5 separate regions of the Homo sapiens genome follow, and regions 1, 2, 3 and 4 are each linked to region 5. Evidence: promoter capture Hi-C in 16 types of primary human blood cells and fetal thymus (Javierre and others, 2016). All regions are on one chromosome and are shown on one strand. The core of a region is centred on a gene start or on the middle of the fragment in contact, and the rest is flanking DNA. Distances in the headings are between cores, read along the strand shown.

The links. Contacts are between HindIII fragments. The CHiCAGO score rates a contact against its expected background, and 5 or more counts as called.
Region 1: a contact is called between a fragment that was not itself captured here and the fragment with the promoter of DOCK9-DT in region 5, in 3 of 17 cell types (activated CD4 T cells, non-activated CD4 T cells and naive CD4 T cells). The highest score is 6.0, in activated CD4 T cells.
Region 2: a contact is called between a fragment that was not itself captured here and the fragment with the promoter of DOCK9-DT in region 5, in 1 of 17 cell types (naive CD8 T cells). The highest score is 5.2, in naive CD8 T cells.
Region 3: a contact is called between a fragment that was not itself captured here and the fragment with the promoter of DOCK9-DT in region 5, in 6 of 17 cell types (total CD8 T cells, activated CD4 T cells, total CD4 T cells and 3 more). The highest score is 8.8, in total CD8 T cells.
Region 4: a contact is called between a fragment that was not itself captured here and the fragment with the promoter of DOCK9-DT in region 5, in 2 of 17 cell types (naive CD8 T cells and endothelial precursors). The highest score is 5.5, in naive CD8 T cells.

Annotation. Positions count from the first base shown.
Region 1 is chr13:98,913,531-98,919,631 of GRCh38, reverse strand. DOCK9 (dedicator of cytokinesis 9) reads left to right here. Exons shown (of 53, transcript NM_001366683.2): 8 at 4,129-4,303; 9 at 5,237-5,304. Among named protein-coding and RNA genes, the nearest start is that of DOCK9, 61 kb to the left of the region's middle. The HindIII fragment of the contact is 591 bases long and covers 3,933-4,523 here.
Region 2 is chr13:98,866,784-98,872,219 of GRCh38, reverse strand. It overlaps DOCK9 (dedicator of cytokinesis 9), which reads left to right. Exons shown (of 53, transcript NM_001366683.2): 28 at 3,843-3,989; 29 at 4,209-4,292; 30 at 4,684-4,795. Among named protein-coding and RNA genes, the nearest start is that of DOCK9-AS1, 37 kb to the right of the region's middle. The HindIII fragment of the contact is 8,290 bases long and covers 1-5,436 here.
Region 3 is chr13:99,263,379-99,268,737 of GRCh38, reverse strand. The region is part of intron 4 of UBAC2 (UBA domain containing 2); the gene reads right to left. Among named protein-coding and RNA genes, the nearest start is that of GPR18, 7.7 kb to the right of the region's middle. The HindIII fragment of the contact is 1,363 bases long and covers 898-2,260 here.
Region 4 is chr13:98,943,285-98,948,656 of GRCh38, reverse strand. All of the region lies in intron 2 of DOCK9 (dedicator of cytokinesis 9), which reads left to right. Among named protein-coding and RNA genes, the nearest start is that of DOCK9, 32 kb to the left of the region's middle. The HindIII fragment of the contact is 2,220 bases long and covers 1,281-3,500 here.
Region 5 is chr13:99,085,418-99,091,472 of GRCh38, reverse strand. DOCK9-DT (DOCK9 divergent transcript) reads right to left here and starts at 4,750. Exons shown (of 1, transcript NR_047482.1): 1 at 2,848-4,750. It also overlaps a transcript of DOCK9 not described here. RefSeq lists enhancers at 3,065-3,624, 4,187-4,748 and silencers at 3,629-3,858, 4,439-4,498, 4,589-4,898, 4,939-5,418. The HindIII fragment of the contact is 5,433 bases long and covers 955-6,055 here.

The DNA.
Region 1 (6,101 bases), core at 2,979-5,478, 170 kb after region 5:
CAACCCCTCACAAAAGATTCAGTCACCATTATCAAAGAATTCTCCCTTCAGATAACTCCATGATGGCTGATCACATCAGCCTGTAGCTCGATTCTGTAAGGAGACTGTTTGGTGGGGCCAGTGTGACACAGCTCTCTGGTTTGACTAAAGGTATACTTGTTACATATTTACATGTTTACCTAGAATTAAAGTGCATTTTCTTCCAAGGAATACATTTGTCTGATTGAAACAGCCCAGCCCTGCAGTGGCTCACGCCTGTAATCTCAACGCTTTGGGAGGCAGAGGCGGATGGTCAGGAGTTCAAGACCAGCCTGACCAACATGGTGAAACCCCGTCTCTACTAAAAATACAAAAATTAGCCAGGCGTGGTGGTGGGTGCGTGTAATCCCAGCTACTTGGGAAGCTGAGGCAGGAGAATCACTTGAACCTGGGAGGCGGAGGTTGCAGTGAGCTGAGATTGCGCCATTGCACTCTAGCCTGGGTGACAGAGCGAGACTCCATCTCAAAAAAAAAAAGAGAAACAGCCCAGCAGTGCTGAAGGGCAGTGCTTCACCCCTGCATCACCTTACCCACTCACATCCTATTCCCTTGAAATAGTAGTGGTGCTAGATCACAAGTGTTCACTGCTGTTTCTTCATTCATCAGTTTTGGACGTCATTGCATGATTTCCTGTGCTGGTAGATCGGATTTTAGCTCCTGGCACCCTCCTTTGGCCTCTAGTCTGGATGAATTGCTTTCCTGCCCCACACACCTGCCATGTAGACATTCGGCCTGTCTTCCTTCCTGTGTTGGGTTTCCTGTTTCTGGGACCTTATGCCTTCCTCTTTCTTGTTCTACTTTCTTGTTTTGGGGGAGCACATCTTCTGCAGCTTTCTGAGGAATTGTGTGTGAGATGTTAATTTTTTGAGAATTAGGGTATCTGTTCATATCTTAATTTTTGCATTCATGCTTGACTCATAGTTTGGCTAGTTATAAAATTCAAAGTGAAATCATTTTACCTTGGAATTTCAAGGGCATCCCATTGCCATCTAGTTTCCACTGTCGTTTGGAAGGTTCTGATGTTATTCGAAATCCCTGTTCTTTGTGGTCTTCTCTTTAGTGTTCTAAAATTTTGGTTGTTGTGTCTTGATTTTTATTTTATGCTTTGGTAAGCTTTTTTGTTAAGTTATAACATATAAATAGAAAATAAGGTATAACATATAAATAGAAAATATATGCCTAATGCATGTGTGACTCGGTGGATCTTTCTGGAGCTCGGCTCTTTCTTATCTTTGTGCTGTTTTATTTCCCGTCATTCTGGAGACTCTGCCCTGCATATTCTGGCCACCTTGGTCTTCCCCAGGTCTCGTCAGTGTCTTCTACTCAGCAAGATGGCAGGGCTCTTTTTGGATTCCCCTTCCTGTGCTGCAATTCAGATACTGCCTCCAGGCAGAAAGCTGAGGCAATTTGGGGCTCACTTCAGTCTTTCCCTTCTACAGAGAAAGGGCTGCACTGCCTTTTGTCCCCTATCTGAAAACAGTTATTTCATGTATTTTGTCCACTTTTCTAGCAATGATGGTGGGAGGCTAAGTCCAGATCCTGTTTCTTCCTTATGGTCAGCAGTGGAAGGGAGGGGTCCAGAATCAGATGTCTGCAGGGACCAAGGAGGTCAATTAAGTGACAGAGAGGCCTGGTTGCAAAGCAATAGGGAATGCCGGGGTGACCTGGAGCCCAGTGCCCCATTTAAAGGGGGCATCTCCTGCCCACCTGCAGCTGGTGCCGCCAGGTGGAACCCCCGGCTCAAAGGTGCCAGATCATCTGGTTTCTCAAAAAGCAAGAAATACAGAATTTGAGTTAAACTTTGGTAACTTTAGTTATTGGTAACTAACTTTAAAAACCACTTTGAAAAATAAATAAAAAACACCAACAGGTAATTTGAGAGGATACAAAAAGCAAACAAACAAAATACCACTGTGCAGTACCCCCGCCCTGCCGAAAAAAAAAAAAAGAAAAAAAAAGGTAAAATACATGAAAGTATATTTGGGCCCACGTTCAAGACTGTAGCACCACTTAATGCTCACTGAAAATTGTTTTCAGTCAACAGCTAATGTGGATGTCTCTTAGCTGGCAATTCAGCCTTCTCTGAAGGCCACCACTATGAACAATCTAATTATATCAGAGTATGTTCATTGACAATGTCTGTGAAGTAAGGAGTGCCAGAGTGATTTATCAGTGACAGTGAATTGACTTCTTGGGTGGGATTCCCAAGTAGGAGTTTTATTTGTATTCTTTAGTCAAAAGACCTTTAAGTTACTTTTTAGCTGAATTTTCTGGCACTGACTTTAAAAAGAAGGTTAAAGCAAAACTAAATGTATTTGGCAACCTCATTTTTTAAAGTAGGAAGTAATTATTTTTGTTTTATAAGAGAGTTTTGCTGCCTGTTTCTGGCCCAGGGACAGATGTTTATAAGTACAACTGCCCTGAGCTATCAATTAGTCTCCGGGGTGCATTTCAAAATCTAAGGTTCTGACTTCAATGGAAGTCTCTTCCTTCAAATTGTCTTTGCAGATGCAGCTGATGGTGTTTTCATTTAATAAAGTGTATCCAAGGCTTCAAAAGAGTAAAATAATTTGTTTTTATCTGTGTCTGTTTGTAAACTAAGCATCAAAAGTTGTGATTTAAGTGTTTTTAAAAATTATTACTTATGGATATTATAAAAAAATTAGTTGACTGGTGCTGTGAATTAAAAAAAGTGCCTAAACTAAAAAATTTTGAAGCATTTTAGAACCCTTGAAATTTATTATACTTATTTTGCAGATGAGAAAACTGAGGCTCAGAAACAGAAATTTAGAATTGAGGCCTAATGTTTTTTTCTCCACTTTTAACTTTCTCTTTTCATGATTGTGAGTATGCAGGGAAAGGAGGAGAGAAAATTCATTTTGTTTCAAGCCTTTGACTTCTTCCCTGGTTCTTGCCTTGAAGTTTAAGTGGAATCCAAAGTGGCAATTACTGAGCCCACAGCAGACAGTCTGTGCACAAGAGTGTGTGGCTTTGCCAAGGGGAGCACTTGACTTTGCATTTCTAAGAACTGTGCTGCAGAATCACAGAGACTTTTGGGAGGGTTGCCCTGTCCCTGAGACCTCCACCAAGGAACTCTTAGAGAGAGTGTGGATAACCCAGTAGGATTTTAGTGGCTATGCGGGGGGCTGTCCTGCTGGCTCAGGTTAGTGGGAGTGTTTGATTTCATATCGCTCAGCCTGTCCTTACAGGGGATCTTGTGCCATGATCCTCAGAGCTGAACCTCTGTCTACTGCGGCCAACCTGGGGAGATTTTGCTCCCTGGAGGACATCTTGGAATGTCTGAAGACTGGCATCTATTGGCTTAAGGCCATAAATTTCGCTAAACATTGTACAATGCATGGACCAGCCACTCACAACAAAGAATTGGCTGCCCAAGTGTCAGTAGTACCGAGATTGAGAAATCCTGGCCTAGTGCATGTTCATCTTCCGTCTGTTACTGCACATGGACTACTGTTCTTGTTCTGTGAGCCAGTCACCCTCTTGCAGGCATGAAAACTGGAGGCATGAGGCAAGGCCACGGACAGGGAGTCCAAATACCTTTTGGGATTCATAAAGGATGGGAAAGTTCCAGATAAGTAAGCCAAACATAGTAATAGATAATGGTTGGCTTTTAAAAATGTAATACCATACACTACTTCATTAAAAAAATAGGAGCTGAAGAAATATGAAAATTTTACATGAAATTTCATTTATTCAACAAATATTTTTCAAATACCCACTATGTGCAAGTCACTGTAGAGTCCATAGAGACTAAGGATGTGTAGCACTGACAAAAATGGGAGCACTGAGGAGGTTTCATTCCACTGCAGGGACACACAGTGAATCAGATGAGTATGTAAAGCAGGTAATGAGTCAGAAGGAAAAATAAAGCTTGCAGAAAGTGAAGCAGGGAAGGTGGACGGTAATGGGATTTCATGGGGGGGGGCTTTCATGAGGAGGGGGCAAGCTATTTAAAATAGCTTGGTTCTAAATGCCAATGAGATATCACTCACCAACAAGAGAGAGTAATTATTTTAAAGCAGTTCTAATTCTTTTAAAGTATGTCTGTTTATCCTTTTTTCATTTCAGAACAACAAAGTCAGGCGTTTTGCTTTTGAGCTCAAGATGCAGGACAAAAGTAGTTATCTCTTGGCAGCAGACAGTGAAGTGGAAATGGAAGAATGGATCACAATTCTAAATAAGATCCTCCAGCTCAACTTTGAAGCTGCAATGCAAGAAAAGCGAAATGGCGACTCTCACGAAGGTAGATAGGCTTGGCTTCCCCCAGGCACATACACACTCTGTGGGTGTCTTTATTTTTGCCAGGTGGGTATAAGAAGGAGACCTGTGTTACACAAGTACATGAGAGGTGGGACGGATAGGAGCTCTTTACAAATATCCTGTCAGCAAAGGTTTTGTCACATTATAACTTACTTCCCTGACATTTCGTATATGGAAATCATGTAATGGGAAGAACCAAAGCTTTGGAGGCAGAAAGGGAGACCTGGGTTTGAGTGCCATAAATACTGTATTTCAGCTGTGTAGCCCTGGGTAAACAACTTATGTTTTCTGAGCCTCAGTTGACTCACCTATAAAATGGGAATAAACATGAAAATTGCTGGGAAGATGGGAAGTGTAAATAAGAAAATGAATCTCAAGTATCTGGCATAGAATTTTACTGTATTATAAAATATTAGTAATAATTAGAATGCATGGGAGCCTCAGATTAAATTGGTGAGAAAAATCTGGCTATGTTCTTGACAATTCATGTTTTACTTCAACCCTTAGGTGATTCCCAACCCTGGCTTCCCCTTAGAAGTACCTGGGAGCTTTTTAAAAATACCATTTACCTGGTCCCACAAAAGATTCTGATTTAGTTGGTCTGGGGTGGAGCCTGGGCAGGTCTGACTTTTAGGGGGTCTCATGGACGTGTCCATGTGGGCTGTTGTTCATAGCTAGTGTCAGTTCTAATTGGACGGTGTCCATGCTATACCAGCTGCTCAGTGTTTTGACTTTCATCACTGAGCCTGTGGATCAGTATTTTTTCAAAGCACCCCAAGTGTTTCCCAGGAGCATCCAGAGTGGGGAACCACTGTGTTCATTTGAAGGCACCTAAGAGAAACGGCCTTCCTCCTCCTGTTTCAAATGAAATGCTATGAATTACAAGTGATTCCGATAATCTGTTTTGCCATTTTAGATGATGAACAAAGCAAATTGGAAGGTTCTGGTTCCGGTTTAGATAGCTACCTGCCGGAACTTGCCAAGGTAACATCGTCTTATATCTTCTGCTCTTCGTTGAATGCTGTTGAAGTATGTCTCATTTCACTGGTTTGTCCAGAATGGAATCTGTTGAAATCATAAAAATTACATTGTGATTACCTCTCTCTTTTTCTGACCTGATTACGAGGTGACGTGTACTCATGCAGTATGATTTCAGGTCTGTCTTCTAAAAAGTACCCTACAAAGCATTCTCCTTTTATTATTATTTTAAGTGTTTTTTTCCCTGATAATGCTTAACACTGCATCACAGGTACTGAAGAAATAACTGAAATATGCAGGCAGATGTTCTCATAATAGCATCGTACTTTCTATGTTGATACATGTGCTCTCCCTTACTCAGGGTAATAGACACGGTTCCAAAGAGGAAGGACCTGGTAATCTTGCCACGAAACCCGGGGGTTGCCTGAGTTACAGAAATTGTTTCGGGTCACTCTTACTGGAAAAAAAATAAGCTATTCCTGTGTCTTACAATTTTGAGAAATTTAAAAGTTACTGAAAAGCACAAAGAAAAGCAAATCAACCATACTGCTACTTCCCAGATTAAATATCTATTATGATGTTGCCTTTTTAGCTTCCATATTCTTAAAAGATATAAAACATCGGTTATAGTTGAAGTTCTTTTTAAACACTGTCCTTATTCCCATTCTCTTCTTCTCCCACAACCCCAATCAGAAACAAGCACTATTAAAAGTTTTACTTTCATTTTTATATCTTTACAAATAAATCTATCATAATGATATATACAGTATGATTTAGTATGTTTAAAAATGTTTTATAAATGC
Region 2 (5,436 bases), core at 1,852-4,351, 220 kb after region 5:
GGAAAGCAGTAAAATAGCCCATAGAGAAGAGGCCTCTAAACCACACCAGAGAGTGGAAGAACACAGTGCAGAACAAAGAAGTGAACATTTGAAGACCATTCCGAAGTCCTCACCCATGAAGCAATGATTGGGCAGCACAGCTGTGGGAGAGCAGATGACCTGTAGGGCGGGGAGTAGCCCATCCTGGGTCTCTACGAAGACCTGGCTGTTAACCGCAGCGTCCACAGGGGCCTCCACAGCCAGGCTGAGTGTGGGTCTTCAGGGAGATCCCGTTCATTCGAGGAGTCAGTTGGTAGGCGCTGAGCAGCCAGCGGGCAGCACATAAGTGTGGCTCGCAGAGGATGGGGGCATGGCATCCCGCATGTGGCTAGAGAGGCTGATCTTGTGAGGACAGGTGCTGGGCTGGCTGACCCCACACAGGCAGCACCTGTCAGGTGGTGCCAGGACAGAAAGGGATGCTGCAGTGCAGCGCAGCACACGGCAAGAGATCCTCCAGCAGGACGTGGCAGGGAGTTGAGGTTGGTTTGGCTGAGAAGTCCCTTAGTGTCTCAGCGTCCTCTTCTCCAAGCCTCTATCAGGTACTCACTACCTGAGCATCATCTTAGATTTTCCTCTTCTGTTTCAGTTTATAGTAATCTCCATAAAAACATTCTATTGCTTAGGTCTTCATTACCTTGAAATGTGTATGATACCTCGTAAAAAGACTTTAGTTTGTTTTATTGACAATTAGGACTCTTAACAACAGCTATTTGCCACTGCAGGGAGAACTTCATTTCAGCCTTCACAGGCATGAGTTGTCATTGCCTAGTCACTGAACAGCACTAATGATGGGTTGGTATGTAAATTATCCATCATTCTTCTCCATGTATTCTTTCTTTTTAATACAAACATTTTACTATATTTTCTAATAAGTGCAGAAGTAGAGGGATTAGCCTCCCCACTTGTCAATGTTCTACTGCCCTTGCTTGATACATACCCACCCTCACATTTTTACCTTGTAGTATTTTAAGCCGTTCCCAGCTATTTTCTCACTCCATCTTAGACACTTTTAGCATGTCATCTCTAACAGATAAGCCTTTAAAAAAGATATAACTACCAACATCACACCACACAAAATTAGCAAAACGTCTTTATTATCATCTAACACCCAGTCTATATTCAGTTTTCCCCAGGTGTCTCAAAAATGTCATCCTATAGTTGGGTTTGTCTGCTTCCGGATCTAAACAAAGTTCACACCTTGCATTTAGTTGCTGTGTTTCTGAGGTTTCTTTGATTCTTAAACTGTTCTCTTTTCATCTGTTTGGACTTTTTTTTTTTTTTTGGCAACATATTTGTTGAAGAAAGTGGGTCATTTGTCCAGCAGAATTCCCCACAGTTTAGATTTGGCTGATGGTAGCCTCACCGTGTTACATACGTGGTTCTCTGCCCCGTGTTCCCTGTGAACTTGTGGTTGGATCTAGAGACTTAATTTGATTCAGGTTTGATTTTTTTTCTGGCAAGGATACCTCATAGCTGTTACTATTGCATCACATCAGGAGGCATATATACCCAGCTGTTCTACTTTTAGTTATAATAATGTTGATTAATAGGTTTACATGGTGCCCACTCAACCTGTCCATGATAGAGTTCTCCATCTACTTTTCCTGGTTTTAGCAGCCATTGACTCAGCCCCATTGTGAAGGCCACAAGCATTTCTTGGGATACCTCTTTTTCAGGAGTGGCCAGCTTGGGTAGTTAGCAGTCATGCCGGGGGTTAGAGTTGGCCTTGCCTGCGGTCTTGGAAATTGGTCATCTATTGATGCTGTCATCTCAGGATATAGAGTTATTGGTGGCACATATGCAACAAAATCCCTTTGGAATTTCACATTTTGCCATTCTGTTTTTTAAAGTTGGTGAGCTTCACATTTTTGTTACTGATCCTTTCCTCATTGGATTCTTGACTCTATGTAAGGTTATAAACATTTCCTCGTTATTGGTTTGAGAATTGAAATTGTTATAAAGCTGGTATTTCAAATATTCCTAATAGGTTCTGGCATTTAATGCATAATATAATGCCTGCTGTCATGTCAGAAATGTCTAGGTTGCAGTTCCCAGTTTTAGAAAATACTATTTGTTTGATATTGGGACATTGGTTTGGCTGCTCAAAAACAGGCCATAATAATAGTGGTTTAAATTCGACAGAAGGTTCATTTCTCTCTTGGACAATCATGAGTTGGTAGGCAGTTTGGAGAACAGGGCAGCTAGTTCCCCAAGATCATTCAGTGACTCAAGCTCCTCCAATCCAGTTATCCAGCCTGCGATGTTCACCTCATCCACGTGGCTGAGAAGCTGGCTCACTGCCACAGCACAGTCCAGGCAGTGGCACAGGAAGGAACAAGGGAGGCCAGCGGCTCCTTTTAGGAGCATGGCCTAAACAAGGCACGCATCCCTTCCATAATTTGGTCATGTGGCTCATACCTAGTGGTAAGTTAGACTGGAAAATATAGTCTGGCTGGGCAGCCATGTGTCCCTGTAAAACCATTACTCTTCAGTTACTAAAAGGAGGAAGACAAGGACAGTTTTATTAAAGGTCAGTTAGTACTTTTTAGTGAGCTCTCTAAGCCTCAGTTTTCCTGTCTGTAAAATGGGGATGAAAATACCCCCCTCTTGTGGCTGTTAGAATTAAATGCATGAATGGATCAATGTAATGGAGCATCCTTCCTACTTCAGGCTCTCAGTAAATTATTCTGTTTATAGACACAGGGGAAGTGCAGCTTCATGTAACAGAAAATGCCCAAGTTTTGGATTCTGTGGTAGACCTGGGTCTGAATCGTTGTTGTTAGTTGTGTGACTGAGGACACATGTACCTAACCTCTCTGACCCTTTAACAAATGAGGATTAAACTTATAGGGGTATTACAAGAATTGAATGAAAAAGTACATACAAATATGTAGTGCAGTGTCTGACATGTAGAAGATATACATAAGTGTTAGCTAATTGCTAAGTAATCTGAGTGTAATTTTGTAGGTTCCTGTTGGGGAAAGATTACTGTGTAAAGTTGATTGTGAGAAGACTGCTGCCAAGCAGTTTTAACTAATCATGCACGGTCATCAAAATCCGTATTTTCAGTTTGAATATTTGGAGCTTAAATGTAAGCCAGTGCTTTCTAAAGAGATCTCTGAGAGGTACAGGCATCAGAATCATCAAAGATGCTCAGTAAAAATGCAGGTTCTTGCCCCTTCTCCCTGCACCCGCTGCCAGGCTCCTGAATCAGAATCTTTGGGAATGGATGCAGAAGCTCCACCTTTTTACAAACACTTTTTAGGTGATCTTTATTACGCTGAAGTTTGAGGTTCCAGTTTTAATCCACAGCACTTATTTGAAGTATTTGAACACTTTCACAGTACTTTGAAAGAAGGAGGGTTAATTCATTTTTTCCAATTTCAGATAAACAAGACTAGGACTCTGAGGTTTTATGGGGTTTTTTGAGACTGGGCCTTGCTTTGTCACCCTGGCTGGAGTACAGTGGCTGATCTTGGCTCACTGCAGCCTCAGACTGCTGGGCTCCAGCAATCCTACCACCTCAGCCTCCTGAGTAACTGGGACTACAGGTGCATACCACCACACCCACCTAATTATTGTACAGATGGAATCTTGCTATGTTGCCTGGGCTGGTCTTAAACCCCTGGGCTCAAGTGATCCTCCCAACTTGGCTTCCCAAAGTGCTGGGGTTACAAGTGTGAGCCACAGCACCCAGCTAGAAACTCTGGGTTTTTTAAGATGGACTCAGGGATGAGATATTTTTTCCTCCCAAATGATTGCAACTTAATAAATAATAAATGTTTGCTCTGAATTCTTTTTAGTTGCTGCGAAACCAGAGATTTCCTGCATCCTATCATCATGCAGTGGAAACCGTTGTAAATATGCTGATGCCACACATCACTCAGAAGTTTCGAGATAATCCAGAGGCATCTAAGAACGCGAATCATAGCCTTGCTGTCTTCATCAAGGTGGGGACCTCCAGGGAAGAGGATATCAGTTATGGGACAAAGATGTGCTTTTTACCAGCTGTCTAGCAGGGTGACTAGAATAGAGTAGGTGCTCTGGCAATGTTGATGGCATGTTTTTTATGTCAGTGGATAAACTTATTAGCAATAAATGCTGCTTTGAATCCAAATTTCCGAAATGTTTGGACCTGAAATAACTTTTTTGCTTGTTTTCCTCCACAGAGATGTTTCACCTTCATGGACAGGGGCTTTGTCTTCAAGCAGATCAACAACTACATTAGCTGTTTTGCTCCTGGAGACCCAAAGGTAGTGCGGGGGTTGTTACTGGTAACAGAAGTCACCATGTAGCCTTTCTCTGGTAGAATTATCTTTTTCCTTTTTTTTTTTTAAAGCTCTGCCTTACTAATTTTTTTATTGTATTGAGCCTGTGTCTGTAATTATAAGCTACCTGAAGTCCTTCATTGAAGTAGGAGGAGCCCTAAAAATCAATTGAAGACATTGTTTATTGAAATGTGTCCTTAGTTTTCAAATCAATCCCTGCAGCCATCCTGAAATCTGTACAGTGCAATAGAGTGTGCAGTTCTAAGAAGGTCAAGAAGCTAATGACTATTTCTAGCATACTATTGCTAATAGGTTTTTTAGAATCCTGTATAAAATATCCAGTGAGGTATTTATGACTACACACTTCTTCCTGCAGACCCTCTTTGAATACAAGTTTGAATTTCTCCGTGTAGTGTGCAACCATGAACATTATATTCCGTTGAACTTACCAATGCCATTTGGAAAAGGCAGGATTCAAAGATACCAAGGTAATCCATCTTTATTTCTATTAACCTTTTCACAAACAGAGACATTTATTTTCAATAAGAAAAGATAATTGATTCAAACATGATATTTGAATTTTCTGATTTTTTTCATTGATGAATTAATTTTTTTCTTATGAAATTTCCATTTCAAAAAGTATTGGTAAAATATGGGAACTTACTTTTCAGCAAACTTATCAGACTACAGATCATGCCAGTATGGCTATTTCATTGAAAAATCCCTTTGCTTAAAGAAAAGGAATCTATTTCAGTTGCTATAGCTTATTTTTATTTGTTTCACTTTTCCTTTTTTCTTATGAATTAGCTTTTCTTTCACCAACTGTGGAGTCAAATGACACTCCTGTAGGTAGGTGTGGGGTATGACGCTTGCTTTCTTGCATTTTCCTCCTCTAAAAAATAAAGAATGCAAGTGATGGCTGAACTGCTTCCATATGCTGTTCTGTTAAGTATTTCCTATATAATTTGATCAATTTTTAAACTTGCCATAAATTAGTGAATTTTTTCACTGGAACTAAGACATTGCTGTAACATCCCAGGGAGGCATCCGGTTTTTTGCTCCTGAAGTCACTGGGTACTCTAGGATGTTTCTTTAAGAAGTAAAACAAACATCCCTGCTTCACCCCCAA
Region 3 (5,359 bases), core at 330-2,829, 180 kb before region 5:
CAAGCCAAACAACTCTATCATTCAGTGCCTCTACAGCTGATTTTTAAGACTCAAGAGAAAGACCTAATGTTCTCTCTCTTACCTTCTTTACCTTTTGTGTTTCTTTTTTTTTTTTTTTTTTTTTTTGAGACAGAGTCTCACTCTGTAGCCCAGGCTGAATGGAGTGCAGTGACAGGATCATGGCTCACTGCAGCCTCGGCCCTCCAGGCTCAGGTGATCCTCCCACCTCAGCCTCCTAGGTAGCTGAGACTACAGGCACATGCCACCACGCCTGGCTAATTTTTTGTATTTTATGTAAACACAAGGTTTTGCTATGTTGCCCAGGATGGTCTCCAGGACTCAAACGATCTGCCTGCCTTGGCCTCCCAAAATGCCGAGATTACAGGTGAGAGCCACCATGCCTGGCCTCCTTCTATGTTTCATATTTTGACTATAAAGCCCAAAACTCCAGCTTGCTGAGGCAGCTAATGTGTTAGAGCTATTGTTCTTCTGAGAAGACTGCTAGCAGCTCCCCGAAAACCCACTGTTCCCTTATCTCCAGGGACACAACTGCCCAGGTAAGATTACATCTCCCAGCCTCCCTGTGATTAGGTGTGGCCACGTGACCAAGTTCTTGCCAATGGTTTGGGAGCAGGAGTGACATCTGCAACCTTGAAGGCACCTGGGGAAAGGCAATCCCTCCTCCTGCATGCCCCTTCTTTCTTCCACACCAGCTGGAAGCAGAAGCCATGGAGCCTCCTTGGAAGGCACATGTTGAGGAAAGCAGAGGTGCTCCACCAGACCAGGCCCTTGACGACTTACCGGTACAGAGCCTGCCTACCCCACAGGGTGGTTACAAAAGTGAAATGAACATCTGCGCTCTTTGAGCCACTGTGTCAGCGGTTTGTTACAGAAGCTTAGCCTCCACCATTACTGAAATATCCTCCTAGTTTTTGTAATTTGCAAATCTGATGAGCAAACACACTATATTTTGGTATTTTTTATCACTGATAAAATATTAATCAGAACAGCAGGGACCAAGAATGCTACAAAAAGATAAATGTTACTCTTTCAATTTCAAATGACTATAATAATAAAGGCAGATACCTTTCAGAGCATAAGAAAGCAGCAGTAGCAAGTGGAAGGCTCTGAAGTGAGCAGACTCTGGAACAGAGCTAGTTTCTTCCTTCCTTACTTATATCCTCCTGGACAAGGCAAAGGTGCTGAGGACTGCAGGAAAATACTGCTTCGGCTTAAGTCATGAGGAAAGGTTCCAAAAGGACTCATTGATTTTACTCAGGATAACCTCCCCTCCCTTCCCCTCACCATTTAGAAATCTAAAGCTATGAAATTCATCCTTATCATCAAAATATGATAAATGAGCAAGCCTAAAATATGCTCCAAAAATTGCATCAAAGGACACAATCAACAAAGAAAAGAGGCACCCTACGGAGTAAGAGAAAAAATATTTGCAAATCATCTGATAAGGGATTAACATCTAGATTACATAAAGAGCTCCTACAGCTCAACAACCAAGAAAGATTAACAAATGGGCAAAGAACTTGAATAGGCAATTCTCTAAAGAAGAAATATATATAAATGGCCAAGAAGCCCATGAAAAGATTCTTGAAGTCACTCATCATCGGAAATGGAAATGAAACCACAATGAGACACCACCTTATGCCCATGAGGATGGCTACTACAGGAAAGGAAGGGAGGGAGGGGAGGGAAGGGCGAGTGTGAGAGAGGTGTGCCTGCGAGCCAAGATAGGGAGAAACTGGGCATTGTGTTGCTGGTGCAGCTGCTGGGGAAAACGATACAGCCATTCCCCAACAAACTAAAACCAGAATTACCACACGATCCGGCAATTTCACTTTCAGGGATATAACCCAAAAGAACTGAAAGTAGGGACTGAAGAGATATTTGCTGTATGATGGGTACAGGCTTTCAGTCTGGGAAGATGAAAATGTCCTGGAGGTTGGCTGCACAGCAGTGTGAATGAACTTAACACTACTGAACTGCACATTTAAACATGGTTAAGACGATAAATTGTCTAATACATATATATATATATTTAACATGTCAAATTTGTTCTAAGGCCACATTTATGTTTAATATCTTAGTATAATATCAGATACAAATAAGAGTTAAAATGGAATCTTCTCAAGGCCCTAGCCCAGGAATACACATAGTCCTACAGAGAAAAACTGTTTCCTAAAAAAGAGGATGCTTCCAAAGAGGGCAGAAATGGTCTACAAGCCAAAATGTTTTAGAGTAAGCTTGTCCAACCTGCAGCCCATGGGCCACATGGGCCCAGGACAGCTTTGAATGCAGTCCAACACAAATTAGTACACTTTCTTAAAATATTATGAGTTTTTTCCATGATTTTTTTTTTGATCATCAGCTATCATTAGTGTTAGTGTATTTTATGTGTGGCCCAAGACAGTTCTCCCAATGTGGCCAAGGGAAGCCAGAAGATTGGCCACCTTGTTTTAGAGGAATACATTCATATCTATTATATAAAGCTACATATTATATAGTATTATGTAATATAATATAGAAATATTCATAAAGTAACATTAAAATATTTTATAATATTCTACCAATTAATAGCTTTTAAAAAAAATTATTTCAATTTCAAAGAGACTTTAGAAGGGGTAAAGGTGAAGAGCTCCAAGACCCACTAATCATCTGTAGGTGGCAGTAGAAGCACAGTATTTATGTCAAAGCAGCCCTGAACTATCAATCGGTATGGAAAACCGGAGACCATACATAAGAAATCTGGATCTATTTCATATTCAAATAAACTGTGTGAGTACTCCTACATTCAATAAATTGCAACTAACTTCTCTGATACGAAACCTTTTTAACTTGCCCACTTTTACCTTAAAACCTCTACACAGCCAATCCCAATCTACCTATTTCTTTTTGTCTCATTATTTTATTTGGTACGTCTTTGTAATTGTATCTACCTAGAAACATTAGCCATTCATTTTTTGAGACATGGCATAACCTTTCTTACAGAAAAACACAAACACCAGTCGAATCCATATGCCTGTTAACTGAGGGCCTGCTGGGTGAAGCACTACTCTAGATGCGCTGAAACGTTTGAAGACGCACGTGCCAGGTCCTTGTTCACAAGGCACACACAAAACGAGAACAAGAAGAAGAAAAGGGGTGAAAGTGCAATCAGGGATCAGTACCCACATGACTGTCAAAGAGAGATGTGTCACAGATACTTCAAACTCCAGTTCTAAAACCTGTAATTACTGATCCTAAATCAAATGTTCCATTCATGTTAGAAGAGCAAATCCTACACCAGAGGCAGAAAGATGTAAGCCAACACAGTCTGAGAACCTTTTTTCCAAAGAAGCACAGCGGCAGCTGGCCTGTGGGTCTCAGGGTGGTCCTGCCTGCCTCCTTCCTTCCCTTCTCAGTTAAGACTCTCTTTAGACTGTGGCTTGCTGAGCGCAAGAAGCTGTATGAGCTGAAAGTCATAAACTTCTCATAAAGTCTACCCATACAAATGGTATTAGCAATAAGAAGATAACATTGCTGCAAATATTCAACTGAATGGAGTACTAGTTTTATTTTATAAGCATACAAGGGAGAGTTCTGGTAAATACCTTGTCTGAGTAACCAAAATCAATGCAGTTTTATTACCAAGAAAAAAACAACACGTCTTCCTCTAAAGGTTGATTATAATGTCTCCAAGAGGTCGACTTAAAAATAAATTTAAAATATGGTAAAAAACATACACACTGAAGAACAATTAAAAAAAAAAAAAAAAACAGCGATGGCAAAGATCAGGAACTAATGTGACCCCATCAGGGGACTGAGTGCTTTGCATTTAGAGTAGGCCCAAACTTCAGCAGACACATTCTTGGTTTTCCTCCCTGGGATGAGGACTTAGGAAATGCATCCTGGACGCATTCAGGCTTCCATGCAGCCTCCAAGCTCCTATCCTGCCGGCTCCTATCCACAGTCCTACAGAAATTCAGAGGAAGACCAAAGGTAAAATACTCTCTGCAATGCAAAGAGTTGGGGAGAGGAATGCCTTCAAATCACACAAGGCCGGAAGTGGATGACCCCTCACAGAAGGCCTCACCCAACTGCCCCTGGGGAGAGTGACCATCAGAGAAATGAGCTAACATGGTTAAGACAACCTGGTCAGTTAGTGGCACATGCTGGGCTCCTGCACAGCTATCCAGTCCCAGTCTAAAGACAGGAAAAATTTAAATAAGCTACAAAGAAAAAAAGGGGACAAACGAAGCCAAGAGAACTAGTGCTTAGTGTCTACAGCATGCACTTTACACAAGCTATAAGGCAGTTTTTAAATAGGAAAGGTAACACATATACAGAAAAGTACAGCATGCCAGAAAATCCATTTGCTTCTTTTCCCTTCCCTAGCCTGTTCTCTGTCCCAGAGGCTGGTGGGTCCAAACTCTATGCAAAGGCTCATGGGCCCCTGGCTTCCTGCTAACAGGAGCCTCAGGGGAGATTTAGGCCAAGAGGAACCTGAGGTCACAGTGTACATTTCCCTGGTTCCTTCCTGTAAGGGAACCTCAAGCTTACCGTCTCTCAAAAGAAAAGCACTGCTCCAAGACAGCTGACTTGACTGGGGTCTCTCCTTCCAAGTTCTAGTAACCTCTCCCTTCCTTGATCTCTTTGGGCCTAAGTGTGGTGAGGGTAAGAAAAGCAACAGCTCCAGGATCCTGCCATACAGATGATGGGGGACCCTTCCTTATTATTACACATGCCCACACCCCACCCAAAAGGTTTACCACCTAAGCATGAAATCCTAAGCACTGTATTTTCATTTCATCTGCTTTTTGAAATTTATACAAATGGAATCATATGATATGAATTCCTTCATGTCTGGCTTTTTCAACTTAACACTAGATTCATGAGATTCATCCATGTTGTTCTATCTGCCCTGTGTATCATCAATTGTGATTGTGACTTGCACTCCACTCTATGCCTACACCACAAGTGACTTATTCATGCTATAGTTGAACATTCAGGTTGTTCCTAATTTGGAGTTGTTGTAAATAATGTTACCGTGAACATTCTTGTCCATGTCTCCTGGTACGCAGCATGTGTTTTTACTGGTTATAGACCTAGGAGTGGACTCTGAGTCATGGAGTGTTGGTATCTTCATTTTAATACTTAAACTGTTTTCCATATTTAAACTCCCACCAGCAATGTTCCTTGTTACTCGATACCCTCATCACTCAACATCCTTGCCAGCACTTTGCACTGTCCGTCTTTTTCATCGTAGGCATTCTGGCGAATGGATAATACCCTGCTGTGGTTTTAATTTTCATTTTCCCAATTATTAATAAAAAGTTGAGCAGATTTACATGTTGCTGACCATTTG
Region 4 (5,372 bases), core at 1,141-3,640, 140 kb after region 5:
GAGTTTTGGAGATGGATGGTGGTGATGGTTGAAAAATGAGAATGTACTTAATGCCATTGAACTGTACACTTAAAAATGGTTAAGATGGTATATTTTGTGTTTTATGTATTTAAAATAATGATTTTTAAAAAGCATAGGATTTCGTTATAGGATTTCTGTGCTATATTTATGGGTGGGAAACTGTTGTCATCCTTAGAACTGTTTGCAAAATCAGGTTGAGGAGTGAGTCCTTAGGTGCTTTTCCCACTGATATTCATGGTGTATTACCTATATAAATGTCTTAGCAAGAGAATTGAAAAGAAAGGATAGGAGTGCAGGTCAAAGATTATTCAAAATTGACAATCCTAGAAATTTTACTTTTTGGAAATGTTTGAATACAGGAGAATCCTAGAGTGTTCTCAGCATTGTACAGAAAAATGTGGTTACTCTATTTCCCTTTCAATAACATCCTGAGTTTTATTTTTCCTCTGGTTCTTTTCCTCTTCTACTTACATGAGACTGATAATGATCTACAAATCACTGACATGGAGAGGAAGCTGTGCCTGCTGCTTACAAAGGCCTGGAAGTCCCTGATCTCATTTCCCATCTGTCCTTTTGAAAAGAAAAAAACTTATTTTTCACGATGTTTTGTCCTCACTCTTTTCTTATATAGAGCCAAAAGAAAAAAACCCTCAATACTTTGTTTTTGGCTTTTTATTGAAAAGTGTTCTTTTCATAAATTCCTCAAAATTCTCATCAGTAAGAATTCAGTGGCCAACAGTGTAACTTTCTGTGAACATTGTGGTTTGTGGGATATTAGTTCATGTCTAGGCTTAGACCTAACTGAAAAATCTGGATAAATTATATTTCTGGGCCGGGTGCAGTGGCTCACGCCTGTAATCCTAGCACTTTGGGAGGCTGAGGCGGGCAGATTACCTGAGGTCAGGAGTTTGAGACCAGCCTGGCCAACATGGTGAAACCCTGTCTCTACCAAAAATACAAAAATTATCTGGGCGTAGTGGCGGGCGCCTGTAATCCCAGCTACTTGGGAGGATGAGGCAGGACACTTGAACCCGGGAGGCGGAGGTTACAGTGAGCCAAGATTGTGCCACTGCAACCCCAGCCTAAGCAATGAGAGTGAAAGTCCGTCTCAAAAAAAAAAAAAAAAAAATTCTGAATAGACACATCTAAACCTTGAGGATATGAGAATTTTAATTCTAGTTCAAGTAATGCCTTTTACAGGAAATAGTGATTGATTTTTTTTTTTAATTATCATCACATAGTCCTTAAAAAGAAAAGCTTACTTTTCAGGTAGCACTGATCAGCTGAGCTTAAGGGTATATTTATTTAACTTATGTTTATTCTTAAACGACTTGTGAAAGGACTCAGCTTTGTGAGGTGCTTGGAATCATAAAGATAAGCTAGGATCCTTGCTTTCAAAATGCTCATAACTTAGGAGAGGAGATAAAGGTATGTCTTAATAAGCAGGGGACTAGGACCAGTGTCATGACATAAATCTAGTCCCATGGGAATCTACTGTGGCAGTATTATTTGAGAGTTTAGTGGAACACTCAAGTGCTGTCAGCTCTTGAAGTGGCTGGAAACGCAGAAGTCCAGCCCTGAGAGAAGTGTTTAAAAAGGAAGATCTGGACTCATCCACAGAAAAGTGAGACAGGCATGAAAGGGGCCGAGAGCATGACGGACTGAAGCCTGGGCTAGTGCCTTCATTTAGGAAAAAGCAGGGGAAGCAGAGACAGAAGTTAGGATAAGAACCAGGAAATGGAGAAGAAGAGTTGGAAGAAGGCAGGCAGAGAGGGCAGACAGTCTCTCCATGGCTAGGGAGGTCCCAGGAAAGGGCTGTGGAGTTGGTGACCAGGAAGGGGTAAAGAAGTGAGTGGGGAGACACAGGTTAGAGTAAGCTGGAAACAGAAAGAAGAAATCAGAGTGGCTCAGAGCAGTGACAAGGTCTGCGGGAGGTTTTACCAGGATTGGGAAAGCAAGAATGAGCTGAGAAGGGTGAAACCCAGGCATGGAGAAGAGATCGAAGATATAGGATAATGTGGTCTGAGTTTTGAAGCAGGGTTCCGCATGGGGTCTCTGGGGAGGGAATTGAGGGTCTTTTAGAGGAGGAGTTGAGGAAGGAGAAATACTGCCAGCTCCAAATGGAAGGAGAGCATTGCGTATTGAGAAGTGTAGCGGCAGATTGTGCTGAGGGAGCTAATGTCAGGCTGGCCTGGGGCAGGGGGAGCTTGGGTGAGTAAGGGTTTGGAAAGCAGGCCATGGAGAGTGGCAGGGGGAGTCAAGTCTCACCAGCTTGTTCTCCCCCTGTTGGAACCATCGCCACAGCCTTTGTCTGTCCCTCTTACCTGGATTAATGCGAGAGACTCCTCTCAAGTCTTCTGGGTTCTCTCCTTGCCCTCTTCCAGTCTGTCCTAACAGTGTAGCTAGAGAGACTGTTTAAAAAGTGAGTCAGAGGATATCATTCCTGTGTTCAGAATCCCCCAGCAAAGGCCTTACAGTGGCCCAAGGGTCCCTGTGATCTTGTTTCCCATTTACTCCCAGGCCTTCTCCCAGCCCGCCTCTCTCACCATCCGCTGTCTGTCTGCAGCCACACTGGCCTCTTTGGGCTCCTGTCTCCCCCGCGAGGCTTGGGACCTATCCTGTCCCTGGAAATTCTTTACCTGGCTATCTCTTGCCCCCTGCAAACCTTTTTCCAAATCTGACCTTTGCAATGAGGCTGTTGCTGACTGCTACAGCTCCACCCCTCTTTGGCCTTGCTGGTCCTCTCTACCTTGCTCTGATTTCTTTTTTTCTCTCCCTGTCTCTTAACAGCCTCTCACACTGGTATATGTTCTTGCTTCTTATGTAAACTCCAGGAGGCAGGGATCTTAGTTTTTAAGCATGTAGAACAAGTGGTAGATATTCAATAAATATTTGTAGAATTAAACAAATGAATTATCAACCAAGAGGGGGGTCTTTCCACTTAAGATTTCAGTGAAAACAATTAGCCTTGTTGGAAATGTCAGTCACCTGGGAATAGAGAAGAGAAAGCAGAGGATGGATGGCTGTGATGGTGGCAGGATGTAGGTGAGAGTGAGTGACCCAAGGTCCTAAAATGACCTCCCAGGGAGTCAAGGCTGGAGAGTCTTTGGAGGTGGACCCTGGACTGGGAAAAGAAGACACTAGAGGGCCCAGAGGAGGAAAGAGCAAAAATACTTGGTGTGGGGTAGTTTGAGGAGTACCAGGGCACACTCAGGGAAGGGACATGTCAGTGTCTGAGAGCTCACGGGAGGAAGGTGTAGTGACAACATGGACCATGGTGGAGTGACTTTAGACGGCTCTTGGGTGAGGAGAATCAGCATGTAACAAAGCATTAAATCATTTGGAAGAAATTCAGAAAATCGTAGATGTACATTCAGCCCACTTACCAGGCCTACTAAACGTCAATCAGATATAATATCAAATTGAAATACGAAGTTAAGGGTAGAGCTCTTCAAGTGGCTATTTTGAGCATTTAAGCTTGAGCTGGATTCCCAGGTCCCTGGAAGATGTATGTTATAAGCTTTCTTATTAGAAATATTGTAGGAAAAGGAAGTGATTTACAAACATTTAGAATCATTGTTTCCTTGACTGATTCATTTGTTCTTTAATTTGTTTAAAACCATCTTGCTTAGCTCACCAAACTTCAAGAAGATCAGCATTGGACTGTGCAAATTCAGTGTTATTTTCCTAAACTGAAGGAAGTGTTAAAGATGAAAACTGCTTCTGAAAAATATCTTCTATGCCTGAGTCCAAATCAGCAACCACAGAAACATATTGGGGAAGCATAATTAACTTTGTATTTGTGCCAGCCTTTCTAAATGAAGGTGGAGGCCTGATAGGCTAGGAGGATGATCTGGTCATGACCCCGCTGTCCTTAAGTGAGGTTCAGCTGATTGGCACCTCAAAGGGTTCTCCCGCCTTCCTCGCTGTTCCCAGGGTATCCCTCTGCATCCCCATGAACTGTTACAGGCAGGGGAGGGTGTGTGGGCAGCTGTGTCCCCATGTGCCCTGGCATAGGACTGTAGGGGATGTGATTGAACATGTTATGCGGGAGCAGGACACACACATGGAACACAGTGTAATGGTGCCCTCAGGAGCCAGAGAACTCAGCGGAACCATGATGCCTCCTGCTGAAACAGTTAGGGTACAAGATCAGTGTGTTGATTTTTATGCTTACAAAGTATTTCATCATTTTCTTTATTTTTTTTTTCCTCAGCCTGCTGAGGGTAGTAGCTTTTTTTTTTTTTTTTTTTCTCATATAGTGGACACTGTGACGTGATTTTTGCTCCATATTGTGCTCAGGAAAACCTAGGATTAAGTGGGTAGTTGACATTAACTACACATGTAACTAGAAGAAAGAGAGCACACACGTATGAAATACCACCTGTATACATCAAGTAAATGTAAGATGTTATTCTCTTATCCTGAATGAAGGATATTGATGAACCCAGTAGTCCATCATTGTATGTTTGTGTTCCCCATGAGAGGTCACATTCTTCTTTTCTTTTTAAAATAACATTTAGCTGACATTTTAAATATGTCAGAGAGAATGGTAAAATTCTACAATTGGTGGAATTGGATAAATGCAGACCATATTTGCAAACCAATGAGGCATAGAAGGACAATTTTATCTATGTGATTAGTGTATATGTCTTAGGATATTAAAGGTAATCAACAGGCATGGATAGAGGAAGATTTGAACTAAGGATGATATCTTCCGTCAGGGGTAGCTTAATCAGATGGAAATTTATGAAGTATATACTGTGTCTCTAGCATTCATCCCCTATCCCTCTTTATTATGATTATTTGTAACTATGAAACTGCTTTTTTTCCCCTAAATAGAAAATAAAGCCTCCATGAGACTAGAAAGCTGTAATTTTTTTTTAAATTGTAAACCATAGTTTTTTGAAAATTCATGTTTACATTTGCCAACATTCCTACAATAGTATTTTATCCATAGTAGACACTTAATAGGTATTACACAAATGAATGGATATGAGATCTTGGCACCAGTGGCCTTTGAGGTCATTAGAGCATATCTCAAGGTGGCAAATCATGGGAGTAGAAGTAAAGTAGACAGTAAATTTGCATGCAAAAACGAACACACACAAACGAAGAGTCCTTAAAGGAAATGGAAATCCAGGTTTTGGCCTTAGAATTCCTAGATGTCATTTAACGTATGACCAGGCACAAAATCTCTATGGTTCCTAAAACAAAAACAAGTCCAGCTATGTCTGTATCTCTGCCTTTTTCTACCAGGGTTGCCTAGAAGAACCTAGATAATATTGAGTGTGTCCCACATGGGTTTGAGCAACACCCTTGAGTGTGTGCATGAGATCCAAAGAGGACAG
Region 5 (6,055 bases), core at 3,501-6,000:
TAAGTGGTATCTGGAAACATGTGTTAGATTAATTGTAATACCTTTCCCAGATGCTCTGTCTTGAAGAGATGTGTTTTCTACTTATGTTACCTAGCGGAATAAACAAGAGCCTACTTCTAAGCATGAGTTGATTAATTTCAAAAAACAAATTTGTAAAAAAAAAAAAAGTTTTTAGGTTGGTGCAAAAGTAATTGCAGTTTTTGCCACTGAAATAAAAGATGCAATTACTTTTGCACCAACCTAATAAATGAAGTATAAAGGTAGTGAATGTTCATTAAAAAAATTCAGTCAGGCCGGGCACGGTGGCTTACACCTATAATCCCAGAACTTTGGGAGGTCAAGGTAGGAGGATCACTTGAGCTCAGAAGTTTGATACCAGCCTGGGCAACATAGTGAGACCCTGTATCAACAAATAGTAAAAAAAATTAGGTGGGCGTGGTGGCATGCACCTGTCCTCTGAGCTACTTGGCAGGGTGAGGTGGGAGGATTGCTTGAGCCCAGGAGTTCAAGGCTGCAGCGAGCTATGATGGCACCACTGCTCTCCTTCCTGGACAACAGAGCAATAATCTGTCTCAAAATAAATAAATAAATAAAATTCAATCAGTGCAAGGATAAAATAAAGAACGAAAGTCCCCTTTCACACTTCCCTGTGACAGTGCACAGGAGTGCCTCCTTTTTATGGGTCACTTGTTATTTTTGCTAAAAACAGATATACTCTTTCAAGATATATCCAGAAAAGATTTTAAACTAATTATATGTTATTAAGACACATACAAATCCTAAAGCAAACTTAACAAGGAAATGATGTAGTAAGAGGTTATCATTAAACATGAGTAATGCTTGAATTATAAATTTGGGTGTAGTACAGTCATTTACATGCAAATTTCAGAACTGGCTGCAATTATATTTCATCTCCACTACCTACTAGTATAATTTTCAACAGAAAGAAAAGCTTTCTTCCTATAGTTTGGAAAAACAAAGATGAGGTTACTCCATCAAGCTAATGTAGGTGGATGTATCTTCTACCGTACCTGAGACACCATCCACCCAGTCCAGCCAGAGGTCAGCCTCATCCCAGGTAGCCAGGTAGCACCCTCTTTTGGGCTGATGCTCTGCCCCTCTGTAGGTATGACTGCTCTCCAGGAAATAGTGATGCCAAAAGAATTCACACAATTCCAGGCCCACTCTGGTGGAAATTTTAAAAATAGCCTTTGGCCAGCATGTTGGTTTCCCAGGACTGCTGTAAAAGTTCCACAAACTTAAAACAACAGAATTTCTTCTGTCACTGTTCTAGAGGCTAGAATTCTGAAGTCAAGGTGTCAGCAGGCCATGCTCCCTCTGATGACTTTAGGGAAGAATCCTTCCTTGCCTCTTCCAGTTTCTGGTGGTTCCCAGTGATCCTTGCTGTTCTGTGGCTTGCAGGTGTGCAGTATTCTCCTTCCTACCTTTGTTGTCACATAGTATTTTTCCTTTGTGTATGTATTTGTGTCTCTTCTTATAAAGACACCATTCAGGCTGGGCGTGGTGGCTCACGCCTGTAATCCCAGCACCTTGGGAGGCTGAGATGGGCGGATCACCTGAGGTCAGGAGTTCGACCTGACCTCAGCCTGGCCAACATGGCAAAACCCCTTCTCTACTAAAAATACAAAAAATTAGCCAGGTGTGGTGACAGGTGCCTGTAATCCCAGCCTCCTGGGAGGCAGAGGCTGCAGTGAGCTGAGACTGCACCACAGCACTCCAGCCTGGGCAACAGAGTGAGGCTCTGTCAAAACAAACAAACAAACAAACAAACAAACAACCATTCATACTGAATTAGGGCCCACCTATTCCAGTAGGACCTCACCTTAAGTTGGTTACATGTGCAAAGACCTATTTCCAATAAGGCCACATTCACAGGTACTGGGTTTGGAACTTCAATATATCTTTTGGGGGACTACAATTCAACCCAGAACAGTAGGGACCAAGTTTCTGCTGAAACTTTAACACTAGGAATGTCCCATTTGTTATCAACAGCACTTCACCAGGAAGAAGAGGCTCCACTCTGGGTTGCTGGGTCCATCTTCCTGGGCTTAGTTCACGTTTCCATGCCGCCTTGTCTGTCAGAACCTGTGCTTGGTTAGACATTGCCAGTGACTACTGTTGGCACATTGTCTGTTGTTCTCTGCTTCCTAAATGAAAATCTGCCAATTCTAGAATATACTGAATCAGCAAGTAAGTACAGAATTTAGGAGTGGTAGAGATATGGATAAAATTGGTAGGTTTGGGGAATTCTTCACTTTCCAGATATACATATATTTAAATAAAATTTATGGTAGGTCATTGTCTTGGACTGAGCTCCTGAACTAGGCCCCAACAGACCAGACTAAAATGAAGCCACTGTGTTAGGTGCCACGTAACTAAACAGAGATTTTAAAAAACAGGAAAATCCCCAAAAGGGCCAGTTTTCCAAAAACCAGGAGATTCACAGCAACCAGTCAAACGGGGCCCAGTCAGCCTGAGCCAGCTAAGGCAGCCCCCTCTGCTTTAACCCATAAAGGAGAGTAACCTGAAGTTACCCGATGTGCTTTCGGCACTATGCTTTTCCCTTGTTCCTGCTTAAGTTACCTTAACAAAACCCAGCTGTTCTTCCATTCCCACAAGAGCTCCCGTCTATTTTGTAGTCAGAATGCTGCCTGGTTCATGCATTGCTAATAGAAGCCAATTAGATCTTTAAAACCATTTGTTGAAATTTTGTTCTTTAGACTACACACACACACACACACACACACACACACACACACTCTACTGTAATCATATAGCTCTTAAAAAAAGAAAAGAAAAAAGAATATAAAACCCTACAACCTTAGGTGCTTTTGTTGTTGTTTTTAATTTAAAAAGACAAAATTGTTCGCCTTGTATAGAAGTAGATACAGCTTAGAGAGCCAAGGTAACAAGAGGGGAAAAGTTTGTGTTGTCTGGTACTTTTGAGGGAGTCAGAAGCCTAAAGGGAGGCTCTAACTCATGATTCTCAGAAGACAACTGTTGTCAACAGTTCAAATGAGAACTGAACGGCCACACTCCTGCAGCTGAAAGGAGTCAATGCGAGCTGAGTTGCTCTCACCGAACAGAGTGCGTTCCCCGGGGAGGCAGGGAAAGGCCGGCTTGCACCTGCTCTGTCACCCAGCTCCACTCTTAGGACAGAAGAGGTCTGGAAAATGTCTGGGCCATTCCCTCATTTCACGGAGGAGGAAATGGGTTAGTGTGTAATTGTTTTTATCATCACCCTTGTTTTATCTTTCAATCTGCCAGGCTCACTCAATGCTACATCCTGCAGTCCCCACCCACTGGAGAAACAATCCGATCCTGCAAGTAATTATTGAGTGCGGACGGCATACCTCACCTCCAGACCTGCCCATTAAACCCAGAACGGAGGTGTTTTGCTCTCTGCGCTAGATCGGTATTTTCCCCTACCACTTTAAGATTACGCTTCAGGCCAGTGTTAGGCTTTCTGGTGGGGTGGGACGCAACAGGCGGCCTCCTCCACCGCAGCGATGGCGGCTATGAAACCTCTGGGTATTTGGGCGGGAGGCGCGGCAGGTATTCTCCCAAAACTGGGTTTTCAAGACCACCACTCTCTGCGGAGGCCGACCCGGCAGGTAAGGAACTGTCCATCGGAAGGCAACGGGCGTGGCGTGAGCAGCCCGACCAATCAGCAGAGCCGCCGTTCAGTCAGGCTCCCCGCCCGGGGTACCCGCCCAGTCCCCAACCACTGAGCATGCGCCGCGGGCCTGGCGCAAATCCCCGCCTGGCGCGCCCTCTCCGCGGCCCTGTGAGGGTTAGGCTGCGCCGGGCTTCCTCAGAGAGACAGAAACGGAGCCGGGGCGGGAGCGGGCCCTTAGGGACAGGAAAGCGGTTAGGGTATTGGGGGGAAAGTCCCTCACAGGGTGGCTGTCGCTAGCGGCCGCCAGCTCTGCGTCACGGTGGGCTCGCAAGCCGGCGCATCGCAGTTTCCCTGGTACCCCGCCTGGCGGTCCGGCGCGGAGGGGCGGCAGACCGGCTAAATCGGCCCCAGTGAGGGCCGCCGTGTCACCTGAGCCCCTTCCAGGCCGTTGTCCTCAGGTTACAGGCGACATAACCGAGGCTCCGAAGTATTGCCCACGTCCAAGGTGACGCAGCTGGCCGTCCCGGCGGGCCGGAGTCTGGGAGTCTCCCACGCCTGGCCCGGCCCAACCGTCATCGTCCCGCCGCGAGCTCCGTGCCTCCGGGGACTGAACGGTGGGGAGGCCGAGGCGCCACACGAGCGCGCGGCGCCCCGCGCCAGGTTCCGAGCAGGGACGCTCCGTCCAGGTCCGCCTGGCCGGCCGCGGGTTCCGATCGGTGCCACATAAATAAAGGCTACTTTCCTGAGACCTCTGTCCCCGCAGAGGCCCCGGGCGCAGAGGGGGGGCGTGGTGCACCGAGCTCCGACCCTGCCGGTGACTTCGGGGTCCCCTCGAGCGCAGCCGGGCTCCCTGGGCAGGAAACCCTGCTCCGAAACCGCGCATCGTCCAGCCTCGGCTGTGCGCCCTCTTGGTGGCGTGCGCAGTCCCCTCCTCCGGTCTTCGGACGTGCGGCCCGGGGCGGAGGCGGCCCCGACCCCCCACCTTCCCCAGTGAGGGTCCCGCGCGGCACGCCGCCCCTGCCAGTCCGGCCGCCTAGCTCCAGCGCCGGGCCGCGCCGACCTGCCTGGCCCGCCGTCCCGCCGCGGCGGCCCCTCCTCCGCCGTCCGGGCGCCCCGCCCCGCCCGCGCCGCGCCGGACACCCCGCCCCGAGGAGGCGGCCCGGCGAGTGGTCGCCGAGGGAGGCTGGTGGCATGGGGGAGCCGCCGCCGCCACACGCACGGTCGCCCGGAGCGAGCCCGGGCGCTGCTGCGATCGCGGGGGGCCGCGGACGCCGAGGGGGGCGCCTTGGGGCGTGACACGGTGCAGAGGGCGCGGCCTGGGCTGCGGCGGCCGGACTCGCGGCGAGCAGCGGGGGGAGCAGGCGGCGGCGGCGCCGGGAGCGGCGGGCGGAGCGGGCCGGGCGCCGAGGGCGCACCTGGCGGCCGCGCGGCCGGGCCGGGCCGCGGGAGCAGGCGGAGGCGGAGGCGGCGGGGGCAGGAGGATGTCGCAGCCGCCGCTGCTCCCCGCCTCGGCGGAGACTCGGAAGTTCACCCGGGCGCTGAGTAAGCCGGGCACGGCGGCCGAGCTGCGGCAGAGCGTGTCTGAGGTGGTGCGCGGCTCCGTGCTCCTGGTGAGTGCGGGACGACCGCGGGCCGGGGGAGGATGGCGGGGGCGCAGGCAGCTGCGGGCCCCGGGCCGGGCGCCTCTTAGTCGGCAGGGCTGAGGCAGAGCGGCCGACCCTGCTGGGTCCGCGGAATCAAGAGGTGGGGCCGGCGGGAGGGAGTTGGACAGGGGAGAAGAGAAGGTCCTGGAGGGGCTGCAACTCCCAGACCCCTCCCCGCCACCCAAGATCCTGTCCCCATCGCTGTCCCCTTCCTCCTGGGAAATTTCCGCAGAGTGATGTCGCCCTGTCACTCTTTTCACCCCGCTCTCTCCCAATTTACCTGCTTTCTGTCAACTGGGAAATTACACTCTCCCCCCTCCCCCGCATCCCTCCCCCGTATCCCTCCCCCGGCCTCCCTCTCCTTCCATGTTTTGGAGGGGCGCAGGGGAATTGAGGTGGGGGCTTCCTCATCCAGTCTGCGCTCAGGGTGGGAGATGCCCCTGCTAACCCTTTGAGTTGGCTGAACTCCAGGAGGGAAGGACTTCGGCATCCTCTCCTGCGCCCCCCACCTCCAAGCCGGTATCCTGAAGTTTGGCCGCCTTTTAGGAAGGCTTGGGGGGCATGATGGGAACCCTCGCTAATTTAGTATTGGTGCAAATTCCTGTGACGTTTGGGGGTTCTAAGTAAGCAAAGCCATCAGCCCAAAACGAATCTTCCCGTGGCAGAACGTCTTTAGAGAATAGGCCTCTGGGTGTGAGGAAGATGAAGTTTTCGATTAACTTTTTCACAGCCAGCGCCGGTCCTGCTGTATTTGGAAACGCACTACAACCCG